Regions from separate parts of the Homo sapiens genome. Here regions 1, 2, 3, 4, 6 and 7 are each linked to region 5. Evidence: promoter capture Hi-C in 16 types of primary human blood cells and fetal thymus (Javierre and others, 2016). All regions are on one chromosome and are shown on one strand. Each heading gives the region's core, a stretch centred on a gene start or on the middle of the fragment in contact. The rest is flanking DNA. Distances are from core to core; before and after follow the strand shown. Region 1 has its middle 17 kb from the start of CCN6. Region 2 overlaps FAM229B (family with sequence similarity 229 member B). Region 3 overlaps TUBE1 (tubulin epsilon 1). Region 4 has its middle 58 kb from the start of CCN6. Region 5 holds the start of REV3L (REV3 like, DNA directed polymerase zeta catalytic subunit). Region 6 overlaps LAMA4 (laminin subunit alpha 4). Region 7 holds the start of CCN6 (cellular communication network factor 6).

Region 1 (3,570 bases), core at 526-3,025, 550 kb after region 5:
GGTTTTTGATAAAAAGCCATGGCTGGGGCAGGTGGGTGTGCAGGCAGGCCCTGTGTCCTGTTGTGGCCTTCGCATGGGTAATTTAAAATCTCTTCAAGAAATTCATCAACTAGAAATTTCTAACTATAAAATTATGAAGAAATCATTCCTCAAGGATATACTGACCACATATTTAAAGTGTTTCTTTTAGGCTGGGTGCAGTGGCTCATGTCTGTAATCCCAGCACTTTGGGAGGCCGAGGTGAGTAGATCACCTGAGGCCAGGAGTTCGAGATCAGCCTGGCCAACTTGGTGAAACCCTGACTCTACTAAAAATACAAAAATTAGCCAGGTGTGGTGGCAGGTGCCTGTAGTCCCAGCTACTCTGGAGGCTGAGGCATGAGAATCGTTTGAGTCCAGGGGGCGGAGGTTGCAGTGAGCCAAGATCGCACAGCTGCACTCCAGTCTGGATGACAGAGCATGACTCTGCCTCAAAAATAAAAATAAAATAATAATAATAAAAACAAATTGAAAAATAAAGTATTCCTTTTAGGTTCTTAAAGTCCTGTTTGGCGCTTCACTTTCCTATGCTTCTATCATCCAACATGCTTTCAAGGTTATTAATTCTTTAGAAATGTGTTTCCATTAACTTCTTTCATTTCCTTTCCTGTGCCATCCCTAAAGTCCAAGCTATTATAACTTCTAATTATATCAGTTATGAGATGACTACTTGTTTCCACAGTATTTCCCCAAACACATCTTAAGACTGTCTTTAGCTGCACAGAGTTTCCTAAGATGATGTTTATCAGGCTACTTTCCTGTTTCATAACCACAGTGATGTTCCATCTAAATGACTCTCCTTTATCTTCAGTGCTTCGGTGACCTGGCCTCATGTCACCCGGACAAACTTGGCATGTACATCCAAAATATTAATCAAGATTTCTTTCCTAATATCATCTCTTGGCAAATAGAAAGTCACTTTAGATATGTCTTTACAAAGCTGGGTGCCTTTTGAAAAGCACTGGTAATGTGTGTATTTTCTCTACTACTTTATTTGGAAAAAAAGTTCACTGCTTGGGGATCACATTTTAGACTGAAATCAGTGCTAGCTTGGGATGCTTATTGAGGTTACCTGTTCGAACAAAAAAAATGTAGGAAAAGACATCAAATACTAGTAATTACTTCTGGGAGTGTGATCTTACTTCTAAGATTTTAAAAGTGATTATTTTTGAAAGATTACTTAAAAAATACAGTAAGAAGGTACTTTGTGGAGATCATGAGTATGCAACTACAGGAAAAAGGTTATAAAAGCTAATCTAATGGGGTGGAACTGGTAAATCGTGGCTTGGATAAAATATTTAATAACAGCTTCATCCATGGATTGAAGTAATGCCATATATCCAATATCTTAGATGACTGTAGAGATGAGGTACTCTGTAAAATTGTGATAGATGACTCAAAATATGGCCTTAAGGGATCATGGTGATTCACGAGAAGAGTTTCAAAAACTGATGTATAAAATGTGATGGAGAAAAGTATTGTTTGTATGTTGTATAAGATATGACTGTAAACAAGCATGTGCATTCAAGGAAAGCCTTGCTGCCCACACATTGACACCATCAGGGCCTTCCTCAGCAGGGTTAGCTACTAGGCCTCCCTAGGCCGAGGTCTCACTATTGGGCCAGTCCACATCAGGTGACCAAGCAAGGTAAAGACATAAGGCCCTGGCCACTTTGGCTTCACTGAGGGTAACTCTGGTAGGCAACATTTGCTCCAGAGCTCTTTGCAGGGTTAGTGGCGTCTTTGTCAGGCTTGTTTCACAGTTTAATATCTTCCTCTGCTAAATCCTGCTTCTTTTCTCTTTCTTTGACAGGTATTGATCTCTAAAAAGTATTTCACATTCCAAACTCCATCTCAGCATCTGTTTCTGGAGAATTCAGTTTGTAACAGCATGGGTGCTACATTAATAAATATTACAAGGAGATGTTGATTAATTTATCTACCTCCTTACCAGTTTACACATTCAGGTTGGCTACTAAAATTTTTCTTTAAAAATTATCTCATTGGGAAAACTGGGTATCACCTTATGAATAAGGTCATTTTTTATTGCATACACTCAGTATTCCCATTGATACTGTATTGAGGCTGGTCCACTCACTGTCCCTCTTGCCCCATGCCCTATCCCCATATCATACCCCATTGCACTCATTCCTGCTCTTAGGTTCTGGCTCATGCCAATTCCTCAAAGTAAATTTCTGTTCTTCTGCTCTCTTGCACATGTAGACCCTACTCATTCTTCAAGGTCTTCAAAGAAAGTACCACTTCCTCCACAAAGGCCTCTTTGACTTATGTAGCCTTCTCTTTTATTCCTTAATTTTAAAAAAATTAAATGTTATTTTGTTTTAAAAATGCAACTCAGTTCAGTGCAGCTATTTTCTAATTGTTTCATGTGAATTATATCTCCCAGTAACTAATACAGCACAGAGAGCATAAGGTAGTTACCTGTAAAAACACTAGTCAATTGATAAATATTAAGGAATATCCAAAAAGTTTAAAGTTTAAATTATACCCTGAGAGAGCAATATGTTCCAAAGCCTGTTTCCGGGATTTTCCTTTTTCTTTAAAAAAAGTTTTCATGGTCAAATTTGTTTGGAAAATGTTGCCTGTCGTATCTTCCTACTGGGGATGAGTGCACTGGGTAGTTAAAGGATTGGAGAAGTTGCTCAGTAAATAAATCTGGTTGACTTTAACCCAAATTACTTTAATAAAAATGCATTTATTCCCTGTTTTAAATAGCATCTATGAGCATCTCTGTGGAATTTGTGTTGTGCGGAACATACTTTGGGAGTTGTGTCCCGGCAGATAGCAGAGACCTAGATGCCCATAGAAATAGACTCCATGTCAAATAGGCTGATGACTGGCACCTCCAAATCTAAGGGGGCACACGCAGGCTTGCGATGTCACCATTGCAGGCACAGGAAGCCAGCTGATGATGACTGGCACCTCCAAATCTAAGGGGGCACACGCAGGCTTGCGATGTCACCATTGCAGGCACAGGAAGCCAGCTGAAGGAACAGTGGGAGGAAGAGCTGGCAGTTAATGCCAGTGACTCATGGGAAAGGGTTGCTTTCGGGTAGCCAGCCGCAACCCTGGCTGCACATCGGAATCACCCAGGGAGCTTTAAAACATCCTGACGCCTGGGTCTCACCCCTGGAGACGCTGATGTCATGGGTCTGAGGTGGGGCCTGGGCACTGGGATATTGCAAATTCCCCACATGATTCTAGTTGCAGCCAAAGCTGAGAGCCACTGCTTCAAGCAAGTGGGAATGCTCGTGTGTGAGAGGATTTTTTTCCTCTCTATTCCAGGCTTCCTTTATTGAATGTATCTGCTGTACTGGAAATTACTCTGGGAAATTGTTATGTAAATAACCATGTGTGCTGCTCACCTTGGCACTTGAACCTCCGACTCCAAGTAGGGTCTGAGAACCACCAGAGCTGGTTAGAAAGGCAGAGTTTCCCGCCCCACTCAGATCCCAGGCATGACGCCTGGGTGATCTGCAGGAGTGTTGCAGGCTGAGACCCCTGAGCTAGA
Region 2 (3,364 bases), core at 35-2,534, 610 kb after region 5:
ATATGTGTCCTGAGAAATTAAAATTATTTGATAGGCTTCCTTGTTCATAAGATAAAGTCTAAAATTTTAACTTGAGTTTTTGCTCCTGCGTGATTTGGCCTGTGCTTATGTCTCAGACTCCATTTATTTTCTGTTTTCCATGCTGTGGTTATGCTGGCCTTTCAGATTTTTTATTGTCTTTACTAGCATGACCTTTCCACATGCTGTTTTCCTCTTTGCCCCCTCCTCAACTGTGTCAATGTTTTTGTCTCCCACTCATTTCCACCTAATTAATGCCCCCCATCTCTTAGATTTAGATTAAATATCCTAGACTAAAACAAATCCTATCGTAACCTACAAACTCTACCACAACAGGAACTGTGTTTGTTTTTGCTTAATCTTTTATCTTTAACACTTAACACATGCCTGGCTCATGGTGGATTCTCAGCAAATATTCATTAAATGAATGAATGAATGAAGTCCATGGGTCTTTTTTTCTTAGAACATGACAAGTTCAAATATCACTCATTTTCTGCATCTCATGAATTAATATCTTGAGAATTGAAAGACTATTACTCTTGAGCTTGTGATACTTAAGGGGGTATTTGGATACTTCATCTTTTTATTCACCATTTGCATTGCTCTTGTTTATCTATTGCTTTATGAAAATATGCTGGAGACTCAAATTCCTTTTGTCTTCTGAGGTATCATTCTAATGTTGTAAAGTTTCATCATTAAGACTACTGTTTGGTTTGTTTCATTGTATCACCCATTCTAAAGAAGCATGGTATGCCAAATGGACTAGTTAAAATGGTAAATTACAGGATTTTAAGAATACCCCACTTACAGATATTTTACTTCATATATATCCATGACTAAAAGGTGAAATCAGTGTCTCAATACTCTGATTTCAAGAATGACACAAAAATATGTAGGAAGTAGTGCTGATTGAATTCTTGTGTCCCAGTTATTGGCTTTATACATGTTAGATTGTTTTTAATTCCTCACGACAACTCTGTAAGGTAGGAATTAATACCATTTTACAGACAAACTTTTAGTGATTTGCTTAAAATCTCAGAGCTAACATTGTGTCAAAATTCAAACCTGGCTGGGCACAGTGGGCTCATGCCTGTAACCTTAGCACTTTGGGAGGGTGAGGTGGGTGGATCACTTGAGCCCAGGAATTTGAGACTAGCCTGAGCAGCATGGTAAAACCCTCTATCTACAAAAAAATACAAAATTAGCTGGGCATAGTGGTGTGCACCTGTAGTCCCAGCTACTTGAGATGCTGAGGCAGGAGGATTGCTTGATTCCAGGAGGTCGAGGCTGCATGCAGTCAGCCATGATCATGCCACTGCACTCCAGCCTGGATGACAGAGCAAGACCCTGTCTCAAAAAAAAAAAAAAAAAAAAAAAAACCAAAAAAAAAAAAAAAGAAAAAAAAAAACCTCTAACCTAATTCTGATGCTAAAACCCATCATTCTCCCCACTGCTACCACCTCTCAAACATGTAAACTATTACATTTTTTGCCATCCTAAGGACCAAATGTTTAGGTCCTAATGATACCTTAGCTCACAATGGCCAGCAATTATTTGTTTGTGTGACTGTGACACCGTCAGTTATTTTTCCAAGCTGAAATGGTGATCAACTTATTCACAGATAGTACCCTAGTAAGAAAAAGAAGGTGGAGGTAAGATTGTATCCAACATCAAGTTAATTCTTATGTAAAATGCCAGTTTTCTATAACTTGAGTCATATGAAAACACAACAGTGGTAAAAATGCTCACTAACATTTAATAGTTTAGTCATCGGATATGAAAATTGAAAAACTGCTTAGCTGAAGAGTTATGTTCTGGTATAAGGGTTAAACTAAACATTACTGAGTAGAGGAGAAGTTCATGAGGTGGGCTATTGATCTAGAAGCCAAGAATGAGTTGGGAGAGGGAGAGCAGTTAGAGAAATGAGCAGAGAAGCAGCCCAGGGCTCAGGGAACAGAATAATGAGGACAGTACAAGATGTATTCTTCCTTTCGGCCGGGCGCGGTGGCTCACGCCTGTAATCCCAGCACTTTGGGAGGCCGAGGCGGGCGGATCACGAGGTCAGGAGATCGAGACCATCCTGGCTAACACGGTGAAACCCCATCTCTACTAAAAATAGAAAAAATTAGCCGGGTGTGGTGGCGGGTGCCTGTAGTCCCAGCTACTTGGGAGGCTGAGGCAGGAGAGTGGTGTGAACAGGTGAGGCAGAGCTTGCAGTGAGCCAAGATAGCACCACTGCACTCCAGCCTGGGTGACAGAGCGAGACTCTGTCTCAACAACAACAACAAAAAAGATGTATTCTTCCTTTCACAATTGTAATTATTCCAGCCATTTGGGAATTTGAAGACTCTCTTGAGGAAACAGGAAAAAAAAATAAAGTTAGTCCAGGCATTAGAGAGAGGGTGTAAAGAATCCCATGTAAGAGTTATAGAGAAATTTGTAAAGGTACAATTTGGGTTTGAGGATATTGGAGTGAGATGAGGATGTAGACAGATGGGATTTATTTGGGATGTTATAAGAGAAGGTCTGGGAGAGAAAGGGAATGAGGAAAACAGGATATAAAATGAGAAGAATCTCAATTCTGATTTACTACAGGTGGATTAGACTGTAGGTCCCCACTCATGGATGAAAATACTAATATTGTAGGGAAATAAGCCAGTAAAAACAAGAATGAAACTCTCCAAAAAGCTTTAGAGAAAATTTTTAGCTAAGCCTCAGCTTGTTGTTGGAGCTATGCATTGAGATGTTTGATTCTTTAGCAGGTAGGAAACTATGTGAAAGAATCTCCTGATGTCATAATTTCCGGGTGTCACCGGAACATTTGATCATCATTCCTTTGGCAATTCCAGCCTTCTGTGGAAAGGCCAGTAGAAAGCATTGATTTATTCACCTCTACAGGAATCAGACTCAGCCTCTTTTGGTAAGTCTATTTATCCTTGATCAAATTAGCTAAATGTTAATACCTGCATAGATAGGTAGTTATACTAAACCACAGAGTTTATTATGGTTTCACTAAATCATCATTGAGCGAAACACTTTTTTCTTGATATTGAGACAGTCTATAAAAGTTATCATATTCAAATTTTTAAACCTTAATTTAGTTTTATTATTAACACCAATAAACATTCACTTTTAGGCATAGAATACTGTACTAGGCATAAGAAATAGTTGCACCATTTTAAATTTTTCCTACCCTTTGTGTACTAATAGTTGAATACATTGTATACTAATAGTTGAATACATTGTGTACTAATAGCTGAAAACATTGTGTACTAATAGCTGAAAACATTGTGTACTAATAGTTGAAAACATTGTGTACTAATAGTTGAAAACATTGTGTACTAAT
Region 3 (3,616 bases), core at 415-2,914, 590 kb after region 5:
TCAGAAGGTGAGAACTAAGGTACTAAAAATGTCTGCCATATAATGGCAGCTCATATTAGTTAAACCAGAACATTATGGATGGTATCAATCTACTTGCTTAGTTTAGACGCTAAGTTATCTATTTTTTACTATTGGCAGTAACATGGTACAGTCTGATAGTGAACTAAGAGACATTTTGTAGGGGAACATTAAATTGGCTGTGTTGTGATTCAAGAAGCTAGAAACTCATTCCTTAAGAGTAGAAATCTAGGGATATAAAGAAATGAAGGTACTACCATTTTCCTTACTTTGTAATTCAACAGACTAGTTTTCTTACAAATAGAATGAAATAGTAACACAAAAATCAGAAGTAGTAGTAGTACTACTATAGTAGTACTGGTGGCAGTGGTAATAAAAATAGTATAGCTACGATTTTCTGAACACTTTCATAAAATAAAACATGTCATATATCATTTAAGACTCCTAAATAAAAACCATGTACTATTATTATCCTTATTTTACACTTGAAGAAAACAAGGCACAAAGAGACTAAGTAGTTTGTTCACAGTCACACTTTAGTAAGTGGCACTGCTAGAATTTGAAGGGCGGCTGTTAACTAACTACTATGCCACACTGTCCCAAGCAGCACACACAAATTATCTTTAAAAATATAAACCAAACCTTTCAATATTTCTACGAAGATCTGAAATTTGTACATTTCCTCTAACCATGAGTGCACAGGCGAGGTAAAGACTGTGTTTGGGGTCTGCCCGAAGCAGCTGGTGATCTTTACTAAAGGCATCTGAAAACATCTGATCCAATCTGCAACAATGAAATTGTCATTGTTTATACAAAATATTACTTCTTTCTATGTATAACTATAAAATGAAGATAGTCCTCTATAAGTAAGAAACCACACTAAATATTACACTAACAAAATATTAGATTATATATATTCTAAAAATATTAAATAACTATACTTTTCTTGAAGCAATCTTAATGATATGAGAAGAGAAGAAATCATATAATATTTTCTTTTTCTGGGGGAAAAGGCTTCTGCAGTATATGGGTGATTTCAGGTAGCTACAAAATGTTGACTGTAGCATTATGAACTCTATGTAGTACTGATTTTTGAAACTTGTATTATTATTACTTAGTTCGGTATACCTTATTTATTTCATAGTATCCAAACTACTAAAACTAATTAAAAGCCTAGAACATTAAGACTATTACTTTGTAAAGTATATTATATCATAAATTTTGTTAACAGGAGGAAATTATCAAAGGACAATGTGAAGCTCTCCTATAAAAGATGAAACTCCATAGTAGTTCTCCTAAAAGTAGAGACTTTTAACCTAAGTCTTTTAACTGAAGGATAAAAGACAAAAGAAAATAAAGGTGACTGACAAAGTTTATATCTAACAATACACAGACTCCAATGCTAGGCTGATGCCAATGGACATTTAATAATCACCATGTTGCATACACTGTGTATGTTGCTTAGCTTGTTAAGGTCATCAGCATCCCATGCAGAAACGGAGTCCTATCTATTAGTTGGCAAAGTGGTCATTTGCTGTTGGCTTAGATGAAAACTTACCAATATCACTTGTGACATTCCTGAAGTATAGAATTATCTTGTCAAAACTTTAGTTATAAAAAAGAATCTTTAGTTTTCTTTAAAAACTTTTAAAAAATTATTTTCAATCTGTTTTAGAGACAGGGTCTGTCTTCCTTTGTTGCCCAAGCTGGAGTGCAGGATCAAAATTATAGCTCAATGCAGCCTCAAACTCCTGGGTTCAAGTGATCCTCCCACTTCAGTCTCCAGAGTAGCTGGGACTACAAGTGCAGACAGGGTCTCACACTATGTTGCCCCGGCTGGTCTTGAACTCCTGGGCTCAAGTGATCCTCCCATCTCATCCTTTCAAAGTGTTGGAATTACAGGTGTGAGCCACTGCACTCAGCCAATTTAGTTTTCCCTTTCTTATTTACATACTGTCTCCTTACAGAGTTTGGCAGGACTTTTTCCCTCAGTCAACTGTGAATGCCACTGTGAACTTTTCAAGCTCATCATCAGTATACATGCTAAGAGTATCTTTCAAAACTACATTTTTTGTTAAGTATACTGATGTAATCTTTATGCTTAACAATGACACACAGTTATAAAGCAAGGTGTTCTGGAAAACATACAGAGTTACATCTGAAATTCTTCTATGGTACTGGGCTGTGACAGTAGCTTTAAAACAAACTCTCATTTAATCTACCCAATAAGTATATGAGGTAGGTACTATTTCATTTTTACAGATGAGAAAAACTAAGAAAGTTTAAGTCACTTGCCCAAAGTCCTGTAGCTAGCGACAGTTAGGATTCAAATGTGTTTGTCAGACTTCAAAGGACTTTTCATAAGCCTACAAATTTAATCATTAGATTTAAGTTCAAATAGTTTAATACTGGCATTTTTCAACAATTACTTCTAAATAAAGATGCATTCATCTAATGCAAAAATGGATGTCATCAACTCTCACAGATAAGATGATACAATTAAATAACTAGAGTTATTGCAAACTTTTTTCTCTTAAAAATGTTTTTTAAAGTAATTTGAGGCCTCAAAAAATTGAAACAAAGTTACACCTTACCTTCTAGGAGGAATGTTAACATCTGTCAGTGTATACAGAGGTGTTAGGCTTGACACGAGATAATGAAGTTGAGGAAAAGGAACTAAATTCATGCTGATTTCATTAAGGTCCATATTAAGGGACCCTTCAAATCTTGCAGAGCTAAAAAGTTAACATTAAAATGAGAAAATTTTTAATTTTAAAATTATACACTTTAAATGTAGCTCGATTTATTCAGCAGGTAGTTTCTTAAATTCTTTTGTACACTGTTCTTCAGTGCAGAACACATGCTTTTCTTCCATATTAGTGAAAGTTAGTATCAGAACAATCATGTATAAAATAAAATATAACACACAACATCTACATTTTTTTTTTCTTTCTTTTTTTTTTTTTTTTGAGACAGGGTCTCGCTCTGGTTGCCCAGGCTGGAGTGTAGTGGTGTGATCTCAGCTCACTGCAACCGCCGCCTCCCATCTCAGCCTCCTGAGCAGCTGAGACTACAGTAGGCATACAACACCTTGCCTGGCTAATTTTTGTATTTTTTGTAGATATGGGATTTTACCATGTGCCCCAGGCTGATCTCCAGCTCCTGGGCTCAAGCAATCTACCTGCCTTGGCCTCCTAATGTGCTGAGATTTACAGGCATGAGCCACCATGGCTGGCCCTACAGTCATTCTTTCTGGATTATCTGAAGTGTAATCAATATACTATTATAGTTGCTCATTACACATATAAAAATATCCTATTTAAAACAAACTTTATATTTGAGTTAAACACATATAAGTCAATAATTAGTAACTGTAGAAACAACTAATTTCCTCAAGAATCTGCTTAATATACTCTATAATCTAGAATATAATAATGTCAAAGCAATCTCTGATACCAAAAAGCCACAGAAATCTTTTGGACCAGTTAATGAGGAGGTACAGATTAGTTGGTTTAAATGATTAAGACATTCTACAGCTAAAAAATGTTTAATTTTGTCTACGTGTTTTACAAGTGTGTCAACCACAAAATCTTTTACA
Region 4 (3,236 bases), core at 262-2,761, 510 kb after region 5:
AATCAAACCCACAATGAGATGCCATATCATATCCATTAAAATGCTATTATCACACACACACAAAAGGAGAATAACAAGTGTGGTCAAGGACGTGGAGAAATTGGGACGTTTGTGCTTTGCTGATGGGAACGTAAAATGATGTGGCTACTGTGGAAGACAGTTGGGTAGTTCCTCAACAAGTGAAACACAGAATTACCCTATCGATCCAGCAATTCCACTCCTAGGCATATACCCCAAAGAACTGAAATCGGGAACTCAAATACTTGCACACCAGTATGTACAGCAGCATTATTCACACTATGCAAAACGTGGAAACAACCTAAATGGCCACTGACAGATGAATGGATAAACAAAATGTAGTATATACAGACAATGGGCTATCACTCAGCCTTAAGAAGGAATGAAGTTCTGACATGCCACAACATGAATGAACCTTGAAAACATGATGCTAAGTGAAATAAATCAGACACCGAAGGACAAATATTGTATGACTCCGCTTTTATGAGGTACGTAGAATAGTCAAACTCACAGAGACAGAAAGCAGACTGGTGGTTGCCAAGAAGTGAGAAGAGGGGAAAATGGGGAATTAGTGCTTAACGGCTACAGAGTTCCAGTCTGGGATAATAAAAAAGTTCTGAAGATGGGTGGTGGTGATGGTTGCACAACATTGTGAATCTACTTAATGCCACTGAATTGTACACTTAAAAATGATGAAAATAGTAAATTTTATAATATATATATGTGTGTGTGTATATATATATATATATGTCTTAGTTTGGGCTGCTATAACAAAATACCTTAGAATGGGCATTTTATAAATGATAGAAATTTATTGCTCTCAGAACAGCCTCAGTTCTAGGGGCTGGGAAGTCCAGGATCAAGGCACCTACAGATCTGGTGTCTGATGAGGGCCTATTCCTCATAAACAATGCCTTTTATGTGTCCTCACATGGCAGAAGGACAACAAGCTCCCTCTGGCTTCTTTTATATGGGCACTAATCCCATTCATGAAGGCTCTGCCCTCATGACTGAGTCACCTCCCCAAATTAATGCCATCACATTGGAGGATCAGGTTTCAACATATGAATCTGGGGGAAGCACAAACATTCAGAACATAGCAGTATATTTTACCACAATATTAAAAAGGTGGGCTGGGCACAGTGGGTCACGCCGGTAATCCCAGCACTTTGGGAGGCTGGGGCAGGTGGATCACCTGAGGTCGGCAATTCAAGACCAGCCTGGGCAACATGGTGAAACACCCCTCTATTAAAAATACAAAAGTTAGGCCAGGCACGGTGGTGGGTGCCTGTAATCCCAGCTACTTGGGAGGCTGAGGTTGTACCTCCCAGGTTGAATCTGGGAGGCAAAGTTTGCACCTGGGAGGCAAAGGTTGCAGTGAGCTGAGATCGCACCACTGCCCTCCACCCTGGGCAAGAGAGAGAGACTCCTTCTAAATAAATAAATAAATAAATATGTACAGTCAGATTCCTTCCCTCTAAACTACACCTATGCCATGTCCCTCCTGCTATAACACTGTTAGAGGTTCCTTTCCTCTCATCCTACTCAGTGACAGCACCTCCGCCTGGGACCCAAGTGTAGGCTGCCTCTCGTAATAAGTTCTCGGCTGCTTTCATGTAATAAGCCTCCTCACAGAAGCCACGGTCGTGGCTGCATCCTGGCCCCTGCTAGGCTGTTGCAGCCTCTGCTCTCTTCCCATGTCGGGGGTTGTCAAAGCCACACTCTTTACCAATAAACCTTTTTTAGTTGACACCAGTGCTCTGGACCCTATCTTTTGGGAATTTTTCTAAGCCTTGCCGTCAGTGCCACAATCTTAATGTTGAATGAGACACTGCTTTGCACCGGTGTCTGCGTGTATGATGTCACTGCATCACCACTGCAATTCTACTTTGGGTCTAGAGTCAAGGGCAGAAGTGGAAATGCAGCAAACAATAAATACTTCGTGACTTGCCTCAAAATGATAATACCGCCGACTTTTATTTCAGCTCTGGCTTCCAGCTCGCCTTTGGGATTGGTCTGTGCTGAAAGCAATTTCCAAAGTTAGGACCAAAGAAGGAGCAGATGAATATAATTAGGAGAGGAAGAATAGGAGTCAGCCAAGCAGAGATCTGGTTCATTAATAATGGCCTTCGATTAGAATACTGCTTTTTGGGTGGCGTCTTTAGGATTCTCAGCATCAAGAGAGGCTGTAATTGCTTACAATGTTATCGGCCCTGTTGTCTTGTCATTTTATTTCTTAGCTGTTTTATATTCTGGGCGTAGAACCAGCTGGGAAGGATACAAGCCCAGTGGTGTCAGTGATAGCGGCTAACTGCAGGTATGGTCCATATTTAAGCCTGGGCTTTTATTCAAGTCCTTCATATTGTACACTCCTCAAACTGCTTAATGGAAGTGGGGGAAGAAGTGATATGGTTGGGGGGTCAGACAGGGAGGGGAAGGGAAGTGTTGAAACGTCATAAATTATGCAGTACTTAAAAAAATTCAAATTAATTTGAAGCACCTTTAATTATCTGCTTTATCCTCGTTTTATACTTTTGTCTGTGAAATAAAAAGCAACGTCCTCGCAGGCCGATGCGCTGTACCTGAACCGGGTGTGGCCAAACTGATCTTCCTGCCACCAAAGCCTGCAGGCTGTTCCCACTGCAGTGAAGACGTGCGGCGGTGAGCCTGCCTCTCCTGCCTGCGTTGGGAGGTGAGGTTCGGATGTGATCAACAGCGACCTCTAGCGTGAGCCTGAGACTTTGCATTTGGTTAAGCGTACAGAAGGAAAATAGCAGACATGGGAATTCTGATCAAATTTCCAACGAACAAAGGCGAGGTAACAAAAAACATTTCTCATTGTTTCCCCTGGTAGAGAAGCCCAGGACTGACAGCTGAGGATTTCACTTCATTGGTACCACTTACTCCCATCAGTGCTGGAGATGCTATTCCAAACATTGCCTTATTTCTTTTCCCTCAAACGGATCATTGGGATTGGTTTTAAAAAGCCCTTTCACTTGCCTTTAGGATTTCAACCAGAGAGTTCCCATAGGAAAGCATCAACTCTTTTACTGCAGGGTGTGTGTGTGTGTGTGTGTGTGTGGTTGAAATAGCGGACAGGAGAGTAGGAGAGAAGAGCAATGTCTCCGGGCGCTGTGAGGAGGTCAGGGGTTCCCGCTCACCCTTCTTCACTGACAGCCGCTCCCTAGAGGTGGCCAGCTCTCCATTTCTACCTGAGG
Region 5 (3,399 bases), core at 621-3,120:
ACTTCATCGCCTCGATTTCCCAGCCTCCAAAGTTTCAAGTGTTACACTTTCAACACGTTAAAAGCACTCAAATTCCCCATCTTTCAAGGTTCATATCAAAATCATATTCACTAGTTTAAATAGGAATATGCTACCAAATCTCACAACATTGACATTTTAACAAAGAGAATTCACATTAAAAGATAACTGCTTTAAAATGAGTGCTTGTGTTTGGGAAAGCGCTATTATCTTGGTAGTCCACAGAAACTGACTGTAGTAATAAGATGAATGGTGATGAGGGCAAGGAGCATCAAGTGGGAAATGCTATCTAAAATCCCATAGGGCAATTCATAGCTAGAGGGAAGAACAACCTTTCCTAAGATGCATTATTTCCTAGAACTCCATTATTTCATGGAAGCAGTTCAAAGCATGCAAAAAAGCAAAACCATTTTAAAACACCTAGTAAACTGGGCCTCTATCTTTTTTATATTATCATAAGCCCCAGGAGTTTTTGAGAACGTACCTTCTGTCACGGCTGTCTCCCCTTCCCATCCCTTCTTCAACATAGTTGTGTTTAAAAAATATATACCTGTACTTAAAACGCAATCCTACAGCCCAGCCTAGGAGCATTTCAAAATGTCTGTGCTGCTGAGTCTGGCTGTGGTTCCTAATAAATTCACCCCATTAAGTGTGATGTTTTAGGTTGGGCAACATAAACACGCATTTCCTACTTCCATGGATGCACATTTCCTGAAAGCACTGCACCTAAGGATGCTGCCCTGTCCCCCGACGCTCAGGCACTAAACTCTAAGGAGTCACGACCTGCACTCACAGCAGAGCCACACGGTCACCCCAGTGAGAAAGATTATCTGGCCCCAAGCGCCACTCTCTCCGGCCCACTGCATCTCCGGAACTGGCAGAGGAGAGCGAGGGTGAGAAGAGACCATGGGGAGCGACTGACAACAAGGCTGACACTTCCCCGTTTCCAGAAAGCGGCACTTGGGGGACACAAGGGATGTCCCACTAGCGACCGACCTCAGAGCAGGCCCTACGAACCCGTCCACCGATGGACATGGCGCGGCCACCTGGCCCGCCGTCCGGGGCGCCCGCGGCTTTCGCTCTCCCGGCCCGCGCCCTGGAGTGCGGCTCCCGCTCCCGGCCGCCACACGCAGTCTAAACACGCGGCGCTCGCCACCTCCCTGCCCGGGGGTGGGGGCGCCGCGCAGCGCTCGCGCGGACCCACATTTTTGCGGCTCTTGTCACGCACGAGAGAAAAGGCGAGGAGGGCGGAGGGGAGGGAAGACGCGGCAGCGATCCACGGAGACGGCCGGCGCCGGTGGCGTGTGCGCGTGTGCGCGGCGGGGAGGGCGGCCCCGGCGCCCCGCCGACTCCCGCTCCCGCCCCGCGCCCGGCGCCCGCTTACCTGCCGGGGTCGCTCCGAAGACTCGCACCACCGGCACCTTCTTGACAGGGGCCTGGGTGAGGGGGGATTGGCAGGTATCCAGCCCCTGCAGCGGGCTGGCCATGTAGTAGTCTGCAGTCACTATCCTTACTGAAAACATGTTCGCCGCCGCCGCCACTGCCTCCCTTCACTGGCGACCCGGCAGCGGCAGCAGCAGCGGCGGCGGCTCCCTCCGCAGCGGCGGCGGCGCCCCCTCCCCTTCTCGGCACGGCCCCCTCCCCTCACACAGAGGCACCTCGAGGAGCGGCGGGCGGGGCGGTGTAGGCGCTGCTGCCGCCGCCTCCTCAGGAGCACCCGGCAAGGGGCCGCAGGAGAGAAGCCCTCGAGCTTTCGTCGGTGCTGGTGCTGCCGCCACTGCCGCCACCGCCGGGAATCACACGGGCTCCTCGGTCCCAGGCTGCAGCTCTTGTTGCCATGATGATGATGTCACGGACGCAACCACTGGGGGGAGGGGAGAGGGGGGTGTGTGTGGCGAAGGGAGGCTGCGAGTAGTGCGGGGGAGGGGGCTCGGCGGGAAAAGGAGCGAGAGGGCGGGCGCCCGGGCGGGACACGGAGGGCGGGGGCCGAGAAGGGGCTTTCTCCCCCTCCCCGGGCACGCGGCGAGGGAGGCGGCCGGCGGCCGGCAGCGCCCGCGCGGGATCGATGACTCGGCTGGCGGGCACGGTCACCTGGGTGAGGGGCAGCGGAAGGGGCGGCGGAGCACCGATCTCATGGATGGGCTCCGAGGGGCTTGCGGGAGGGGGGCGCCAGTGTTCGGGGCCGTTTTGGCGGCTATGCAGGATTGGCAGGAGCTGCGATGCTCACACTTGCCTCGCCGACCGCCATTTCACATCCAGCAGAGGAGGCGGGGGCAGCCGCTGAGACGGTTTTTCACAAGGTAAGAAAATCCGCCCGCGTGAGGAGGGAGGCGAGGCGCAGATCTCGTGCCGCTGCGGCCTCGCGGGAGGGAAGGGCGGGCGGGCGGCGGAACGGGCGGGGCCGGGTGCGGACGCAGCCGGCCCTTCTCAGGTAACGCCGCGGCTCCGCGCGTGGCCCGGGGGCGGTGCGAAGGGTGGGGGCGCGCGGGCGCGGGCTTCGGCCTATAAAAGGGCCGCCCTGGCGTTCCCCCTTCCCGAACGTGCCGCGCGAGCCGCGGTGCCCCCTCCTCTTTGCTGCTGCAGTGTCTGCGCCGGGCCATTTAATGAGATTTATTCACGCACGGCTCTTCTCAGCTTTGCGAGGGGTTGGCAGATCCAGTGCACAGGGATTTCCCACTACCGTGTTTTTCTCCCGCCCCCTTCCTTCCCTCTCGTCCTAATACATCCTTCGTTGGTTTCCTCGGCCCCGCAGGCTGCGTCCCGGGCACGCGCAAGTACATGTAAGGACTTGTCAGCTGCCGGTGACCTCCCTCCTCCCTCGTCGCTCCTCCCCCAGCGGAATGTAGGATTAACAGTCTTTCCGAGAAAATTTTGGCCAAAGAAAAAGGCCTGTGAAAGTCACCGCGTTAGACGTGGCCTCCTCGTGTTTTTCACTAACACGTTATGGAAGGTTTTACTACCCGAAGGCATAAAAGCACCACCGTGGGGAAGGGCCGTTTTGAATAAACAACTTTATTCAAAAATCGAGAGGGGGTGAAGCGATGCAGTTAGGGAATTTTTGTTTTAAAGAGTAGTAACATGCAGCTGGCTTGGCTATTAAATTGGAAACAAGGGGTTCCTCTCTGACTTGGCCACTGATATTGGGCGTGACCTTGGACAAATAATTTTGTTTCTTTGGGCTCAGTTTCTACATATGTAAAACGGGAAGGTTTCTCTTAAAAACTAATCCTGAAGGGTTTCTTCTCAACAAAAAGATGCAAGCTGTAGGAGGCAGAAAGCGTGGGTTCAAGTTCGAAATTTGCCCCTGAATTAGGACCCTTGACACATTTCTAACCCATCCAAGTAGAGATCGTTCTTTTACATTTGTGTGTTATACAGGTG
Region 6 (3,161 bases), core at 515-3,014, 680 kb after region 5:
AGAAAGCCCGGGAGAGACAGGCGGGTCGCTGGTGACCTGGACAGGAACAGTCTCAGTGAAGGGGATGGAACCCCCTTCAGAAACGGCCGAGTATAGGGGACAGTGGGAGTCTGGGAGGTAGAAACAGCAATGATAAGTCACTCGAGACATTTTGCTGTGAAGCTGAGCAGAATGGTAGGGCAGAAGTTAGAGGGGATGCAAGCTTTATAAAAGATTTTTTTACAGGGCTTTTTTCTTTTTGATATTTAAAAGATAGGAGATAGTACAGCACGTTTGTACGCTGATGGTAATGATTAAGTAAAGAATGAGAACGGGATGATTCAGAAGAAAGGGCATAACTTGAGGAGTGAAACCCTGCAACCTGTTTTCAAGGCCGGGCAGGAGAAGGAATGCTTACAACGGAGGGGAGGCAGAGGTGTGGGCACAGATGCAGGCGGGCCGGCGGATCTGGGGAGGAAGGATGAAGGGAGTTCTCTTCTCTTTGTTTCTAATTTTTCAGAAAGCAGGAAGCCAAGTCACCAGGCAGAACTGATAGCATGGGAAGTGGGTTCCCACCAGTCGCATGCAGCTGCTCTGGTATGGCCATGGTGCTGGGGATGAGTCAGAAATCTCAGGTAGGTACAACAGAGGAACAGGCAGATATGGTAGTTAAGGGTATTTTGAAAGAATTATTATATTTGATAATTTGAGCTGCTTAAGGAGGGAAGAAAGGACATGAGAGGGGTACGGTAAAAAAGGCAGGGAGGTCTCCATGTGGCCAGAGAATTACTGGAGTGGGCATTCTAGAATAAGTGAGATAGGAGATGGTGCTCTGGGAGGGAGGTGCTTGAAACTAGGGTTTGGGAGGAGGTACTGTTACTGAGGACAAGATCTGGGTATGGCCATAGGTGGGAAAACAGAGGTGGACTGGAGGATAAGCTTGCTGGAAAGGGCAAGTTCAAGGAGCTGGAGGTCAGAGAGTCGGTGACTTCATCCATATGGATTTTGCTGTCACCAAGGAGAGTGATGGGAGTCAGTTTGGAGAGAAAGACAGTTTGGTGCTGAAATAGTCAACGGACAATCAAATGACCTTAAAGTGATATCTTTCGAAAGGTAATAAAATGAACTAAGAGTAATTTCATGATAGTTCAGTTCACTGCATTTTATTGGAAATTTTCTACTTTTACAAAATGTGACTTTTATTGATTTTGAATGCCAGATTTATCAAACACAACTTTATGAGTGAAGAGTGAGTAGGATGGATCGAGAGCAGCATTTTCAATAGAACTCTCTGCAAGAAGTTCCACTATATTCAGTGGCGCAATGCCTGTTTCTGCACAATGCTTGTGCCACTGAATATAGTAGCTGCTAGCTATGTGGCTGCTGAGGACTTGAAAAGTGGCTAATGTGACTGAAGAATTAAAATTTTAATTTTATTTAATTTTAAGTAATTTAAATTTAAGTAGTCATATGTGGCTGGTGGTCATCGTACAGTGCAAGAAACTAAAACATTCAGTCATCTGATCTTTATAATGCCTGCTCACTGGTTAGATATGAATTTATTATTATTCTGTGACACTGAGCTGCTGTTGTAACCTGCTGGAAATACAAACCTGAACAAGTCACGTGCGTCCTTACCTTTATTATATCATCAAGTTCTGAAAGAGTTAGACGAGGTGTTGTCAGAGAGTCCGCAGATGTGCTCAGAGACATGTTCACCACTTCCATTTGTTCCCTCACTCTTTCCTGTTGTTTCTGCGGGAAGGAAGAGTAAGGGAGAGTGAAGTGAATATGTCTTTAGGGAAAGCGTTGGGGAGAGCAGTAAATGTCAACTTGCTCTCTTTGGACTCAGACAAATCTGGGTTCATATCCCAGCTCCATCCTTGCTGTGTGCCTTTGGGGAATGCTACCTGTTTGATGCTGCTTTCTCATTTATAATACAGAGATAACAACAGTAAGAATCTTGGGAGATTAGACATACGGAGGATTATTATAACACCGTCATTTCAAAGAGAGCTAGCGCCTTAGAGAGGGCATTTGTCTCTTTTTCCCAGAATATAAAAGAGGACTATGGAGAAAGGATTGAACACAGGCTCTATATTTGCAGTGATTGGAATATGAATTAATTCAAAAAGTATTTATCATGTGCCAGCCTTGGGCCTGACACAAACAGCCCATTTGGACAGGAACAGAGAATATACAAAAATAATCTTATTATGTCCTTTTAAAAATTAAAAATGGCCCTACTATTAAAGCATCAAATTTTAATCTTGCTTCATACCTCTCAGAGCTCTTTATTGTAAATGCTCAGATGTTTTGAGAAGGGAAAGTAAATACTAATACATGTCTTGATGAGTACTTTAATTTCTACCATCACTTTTAGGTTCTAGAGGCAGGGACATTGTGATTCTGAAGAAATATTATGGGGCTTCCAATGAGTTTAGAGTTTGAAAGAAACATAGAAAGAAACTTTAGGAGGGAAAAGTAAAAGACTCATTTTACAATTTGAGTGAAAAATGAGTTGAAGTTACCTTAGAAATAGTAACAAGTCAGAGTTGAAATATACATTATAGTGTAATCTAGAATATCATAGAAATAATTATAGAAGCCTAGATAGAGAAGGAAATACTTTAAAGCTTTTTAAGTTCATCTTAATGTCCTTTCTTACTCCCTGCAGTCTTTTCTGGCTTAAAGAAAAGGAAGAATGGAACCCATCTTCTCCAGATATGTTGTTATGGGGTAGGTGTAGGTCTAGAGACAGAAAAGAATCACATTTGAACATCCTCTTAATGCAAGAACATTTTTAAAGAAACAATTTTCCCTGAATATCCATCAAGCCTAATACAGTGTGACTATCTGAGATCAATTATTCTTATCTTTACAAAGACTGGGAGTTATACAGCAAAAGCAATACTGTAAAATATGTGTATTAAAATATGTAAAAGAAGGGAGTTGAAAAAAGGTTGGTATTATTTACCTCTCACAGAACTGTTTTCCTTTTACAGTGTTCTTTACCCCTTCTGTAAGTTCTCTCTGGGTGACTGCGGGAGAACACTGCTAACACCCTGAAGTCAGAGACAAACTTCAAAGCTGTGTGCTAATAGCACTGTATATAAGCTTATTTGCAGTAGATGAAAAACAATATGCTTCAAGTTAATGAGTTTCTCCCACTTACCGTATAT
Region 7 (3,335 bases), core at 170-2,669, 570 kb after region 5:
TTGGACCAAAACAGACACATTTTCTTCACTACTCCATTATCTGGTTTTGTCCTATTTCTTAGGGAGGCAAGATAAGGCGTTGGCATCCTAACTGCAGTGGGTATTCCTTGTTGTTTGATGTGCATATACTTACAGTTTAATGACTCCTTAGTAAGCTCTGTGTGATCTGCAGGTTTTAGGGTGTCCATGGTTCTCCAAGGACACCAGATTCTCTGTGGTGGAGGACAGCCTCGTTTTTCCCAGGCCCTCAGCTCAGGCCTAAGCGAGGCTTGATGTTGTCTTTATACAGTAGTGACTGCCTTGAACAGTAACAAAGGTGAGCAATCGGTATAGGATAGGTAAGGCAGCAGGAAAAGGAGGGATAGGTAACTGATCAAAGGAAATAGAAATAGGCCTTGGGATGGGGGCAGGCAGGTGGGACGCCTCAGGGACCTGAGAGGGACAAAGCACCACGGCAGCTGCAAATGAAGATGGGAACACAGACCCAGGCTGAGAACATGGAGAAGCGAAGGTCCCACATGATGACACAGGAGGAGATGCGCTGGTGGTCACACCTTTCAGGGAGGTGAGTATGAAGAAGAGGAGTACAAACCTGTCAAAATTTTATTTTTAATCTTTTTTTTTTTTTTGAGAATAATTCTCACTCTTGTCCCCCAGGCTGGAGTGCAATGGTGCGATCTCGGCTCACTGCAACCTCCGCCTCCCAGGTTCAAGCGATTCTCCTGCCTCAGCCTCCCAAGCAGCTGGGATTACAGGCGCCTGCCACCACACCTGGCTAATTTTTGTGTCTTTTTTTTTTTTTAGCAGAGACGGGATTTCATCATATTGGCCAGGCTTATTTTTAATCTTAATTCATTAAATGAATGATTGCTACCAGTGTAATTGTTTTATTTTAGGCCCGGAAAAATGGAGGTTAACTTCATTGTCATCTGTCATGGAACTGTGGCCACAAAAAGAGGCGTCTCTCAGGCCAGGTACTGTAGGAGTCCGCCCCCTGCTCCATCTGTATTTTTTCCACTCACAGTCCACCTGGCATGAGAAAGGTGTTGGGATAAAGGTGAGCCCAGGGCACTGTGGGTGCCTCCGAGAGAATCTGAGCTGGGGGAGTCAGGGTCCTTCGAGAGCCTGCCATTAATATGGAGGGGGAAAGCCAGGGCTAGGCTGCGATGGGTGCTGTTGGTGGGGGGGCCAGGCCTGCACTCTGTACGTGAGGGTGAAGCTGGAGAAGGAAGCAGCCTAGAGAGGACCCGGAGCAGGGCAAACACAGATGGAGAAGCTGAGGGCAAGGAAGGGAATGACGTGGGACCCCACCCGTTGTCGGGGGCAGGCTCTGCTCTCCAGGAACAGGTAACACAGTCACTTAGAGAACAGTCACTACTTGCCCTGCCCTCCTGAGTCCCGGGAGGAAAGTGCTCGCCCATTCCTGACCTGTGACACGCTCACTGCGAAGGCAGGTTATTAGAAGAGTCCCATGAAAGTAAACAGGGTATTAAAACGGATCCTTAAAAATGAAAGTGCAGGCTGAAAGTTGGTAGTGTGGGAGGTAGAGGGTGTGTGTTCTTGTGCAGAGGAGCGTGGGGTTTGCAGAGGAGACAGGGGAGCTTTGTGTACCCGGAGCAATGAACAAGCGGCGACTTCTCTACCCCTCAGGGTGGCTCCACGGTCCCAGCGACATGCAGGGGCTCCTCTTCTCCACTCTTCTGCTTGCTGGCCTGGCACAGGTAAGTCCTCTCCCCCGACTCTTTCCCTTCCGGAGGCTATGGCCATCCTTAGTTCTTCAGGCCCAAAACTAAACAAAACGAAGATGGAGGAAGAGGGAGGATCAATGGCTTGTGGAACTACTTCATGAGAAATAGGAAGCCATTTTTCTTTCCAAATAAAGTTCTGTGTTCGTTCATGAGCTTCATGAAAGAAATGTAAAACATTTCTCCCTTTCAGGTAATGGCACCGAAGCCTCCTTTCGCTATGTTTGAACAGCGCCACGCTTTCCTATATATTTTTATAGCAGAGCCTAAGGCACAGCCTGGCACAGTGCGGGAAACAGTGTCTCTCCATGCCAGCTCCAGGCGGAGGCTCAACTTTCCATTGCTGTTTGCAAAATGTGCAAAGAGCCCCTGGAAAAACGAATTTTGACAGCGACTTTTTCCAGTTAAGTCTGTCCTTCTTTGAAAGGGGCACTTTGGAATAAACATTTACATTTTTAAAACATTCTCTTACTTTGTCTTTTCTCAGTCCATGTGTTTCTCACTTCCTGAAAGGGAAGCAGTCCATGGAGGCTTGGAAATATTTCAAGCAACAGACCAAAGGGAAGTTTAACTTACTATGAGCAATTCATTGCCTTAGTCTTTTTAAATAAGAAGATGAAAACAAGGTGACTTAATTGTTGATTTATTTACACGGTAGACAGGAGACAGAGCTTTTGAAATCTGGTGATTTAGGAAACATGGGTGTGTCTGTGAGTTAGTAGTTGATTGGGGCCATAAGTAGTAGATACATCTTAGAAAACAAGGAATTGCAAATTGTTATACCATATAGAGAGAGATTTACGATTTCAAAAGAATCATGACAAGAATGTCAGTGGTCCAGGTCATTGCTGCTGTTCTGTGGAGGGGCTCACTCCCCTGTCTGTGTGCCTCCTATTCCACTGTTCTTGAGAAAAAGCCTGTCATTGTGGATTGAGAGCAGCTAGATGTTCTTAGACAGCAGGTATTCCAACACAGAGAGATGTGTACAAAATAAACAACAACAAACACAGAAAGGTGTTACACAAAGAGCGGTAAAAATGGATTATTTTGTGCTTAACTTTGCTTTTATGAATTCATAAATTCATGAAATAGCTGATAATACCTAGCATTTACTGAATAGCTGCTATATGCCAAATACTGTGCTGGGTGCTTTATTTATTTATTTATTTATTTATTTAGAGACAGAGCCTTGCTCTGTCGTTCCAGGCTGGAGTGCAGTGGTGCAGTCTTGGGTCACTGCAACCTCCACCTCCTGGGTTCAAGCGATTGTTGTGCCTCAGCCTCCCAAGTAGCTGAGATTACAGGCCTACACCACCATGCCTTGCCAATTTTTGTATTTTAGTAGAGATAGGGTTTTGCCCTGTTGGCCAAGCTGGTCTTGAACTCCTGACCTCAAGTGATCCGCCCACCTCGGCCTCCCAAAGTGTTGGGATTACAGGTGTGAGCCACCACCTCCGGCCCAAGGGTGCTTTAGTTATTATCTTAATTATCAAAACAACTTTACAAGGTGGTCATTATTAATCCCATATTACAGAGGAGATCAAATGATGGGAAGTTCTGTAAGATCACAGAGCTGTTGCAAAGCTCGGA

What was found. Contacts are between HindIII fragments. The CHiCAGO score rates a contact against its expected background, and 5 or more counts as called.
Region 1: a fragment that was not itself captured here is called in contact with the fragment with the promoter of REV3L in region 5 in 10 of 17 cell types (activated CD4 T cells, naive CD8 T cells, total CD4 T cells and 7 more); the score reaches 13.6 in activated CD4 T cells.
Region 2: a fragment that was not itself captured here is called in contact with the fragment with the promoter of REV3L in region 5 in 3 of 17 cell types (activated CD4 T cells, non-activated CD4 T cells and total CD8 T cells); the score reaches 6.6 in activated CD4 T cells.
Region 3: a fragment that was not itself captured here is called in contact with the fragment with the promoter of REV3L in region 5 in 2 of 17 cell types (naive CD8 T cells and non-activated CD4 T cells); the score reaches 6.2 in naive CD8 T cells.
Region 4: a fragment that was not itself captured here is called in contact with the fragment with the promoter of REV3L in region 5 in 4 of 17 cell types (activated CD4 T cells, non-activated CD4 T cells, total CD4 T cells and 1 more); the score reaches 9.6 in activated CD4 T cells.
Region 6: a fragment that was not itself captured here is called in contact with the fragment with the promoter of REV3L in region 5 in 1 of 17 cell types (activated CD4 T cells); the score reaches 5.6 in activated CD4 T cells.
Region 7: the fragment with the promoter of CCN6 here is called in contact with the fragment with the promoter of REV3L in region 5 in 1 of 17 cell types (naive CD4 T cells); the score reaches 6.1 in naive CD4 T cells.

The regions. Positions count from the first base shown.
Region 1 is chr6:112,034,843-112,038,412 of GRCh38, forward strand. No RefSeq gene overlaps it. Among named protein-coding and RNA genes, the nearest start is that of CCN6, 17 kb to the right of the region's middle. The HindIII fragment of the contact is 5,703 bases long and covers 1-3,570 here.
Region 2 is chr6:112,094,264-112,097,627 of GRCh38, forward strand. It overlaps FAM229B (family with sequence similarity 229 member B), which reads left to right. Exons shown (of 4, transcript NM_001033564.3): 2 at 2,778-2,938. Among named protein-coding and RNA genes, the nearest start is that of FAM229B, 8.4 kb to the left of the region's middle. The HindIII fragment of the contact is 2,839 bases long and covers 1-2,704 here.
Region 3 is chr6:112,072,098-112,075,713 of GRCh38, forward strand. TUBE1 (tubulin epsilon 1) reads right to left here. Exons shown (of 12, transcript NM_016262.5): 9 at 2,613-2,753; 10 at 661-801. Among named protein-coding and RNA genes, the nearest start is that of TUBE1, 14 kb to the right of the region's middle. The HindIII fragment of the contact is 6,092 bases long and covers 1-3,616 here.
Region 4 is chr6:111,994,586-111,997,821 of GRCh38, forward strand. No RefSeq gene overlaps it. Among named protein-coding and RNA genes, the nearest start is that of CCN6, 58 kb to the right of the region's middle. The HindIII fragment of the contact is 4,369 bases long and covers 1-3,236 here.
Region 5 is chr6:111,481,348-111,484,746 of GRCh38, forward strand. It overlaps REV3L (REV3 like, DNA directed polymerase zeta catalytic subunit), which reads right to left and starts at 1,871. Exons shown (of 32, transcript NM_001372078.1): 1 at 1,403-1,871. The coding sequence starts at 1,541. It also overlaps TRAF3IP2-AS1. RefSeq lists enhancers at 758-817, 2,658-3,017 and silencers at 1,188-1,267, 1,328-1,397, 1,458-1,757, 1,928-2,157, 2,198-2,587. The HindIII fragment of the contact is 6,397 bases long and covers 1-3,399 here.
Region 6 is chr6:112,163,543-112,166,703 of GRCh38, forward strand. It overlaps LAMA4 (laminin subunit alpha 4), which reads right to left. Exons shown (of 39, transcript NM_001105206.3): 13 at 1,618-1,734. Among named protein-coding and RNA genes, the nearest start is that of LAMA4-AS1, 71 kb to the right of the region's middle. RefSeq lists an enhancer at 50-99. The HindIII fragment of the contact is 1,697 bases long and covers 917-2,613 here.
Region 7 is chr6:112,052,685-112,056,019 of GRCh38, forward strand. It overlaps CCN6 (cellular communication network factor 6), which reads left to right and starts at 1,420. Exons shown (of 5, transcript NM_198239.2): 1 at 1,420-1,721. The coding sequence starts at 1,674. The HindIII fragment of the contact is 6,629 bases long and covers 1-3,335 here.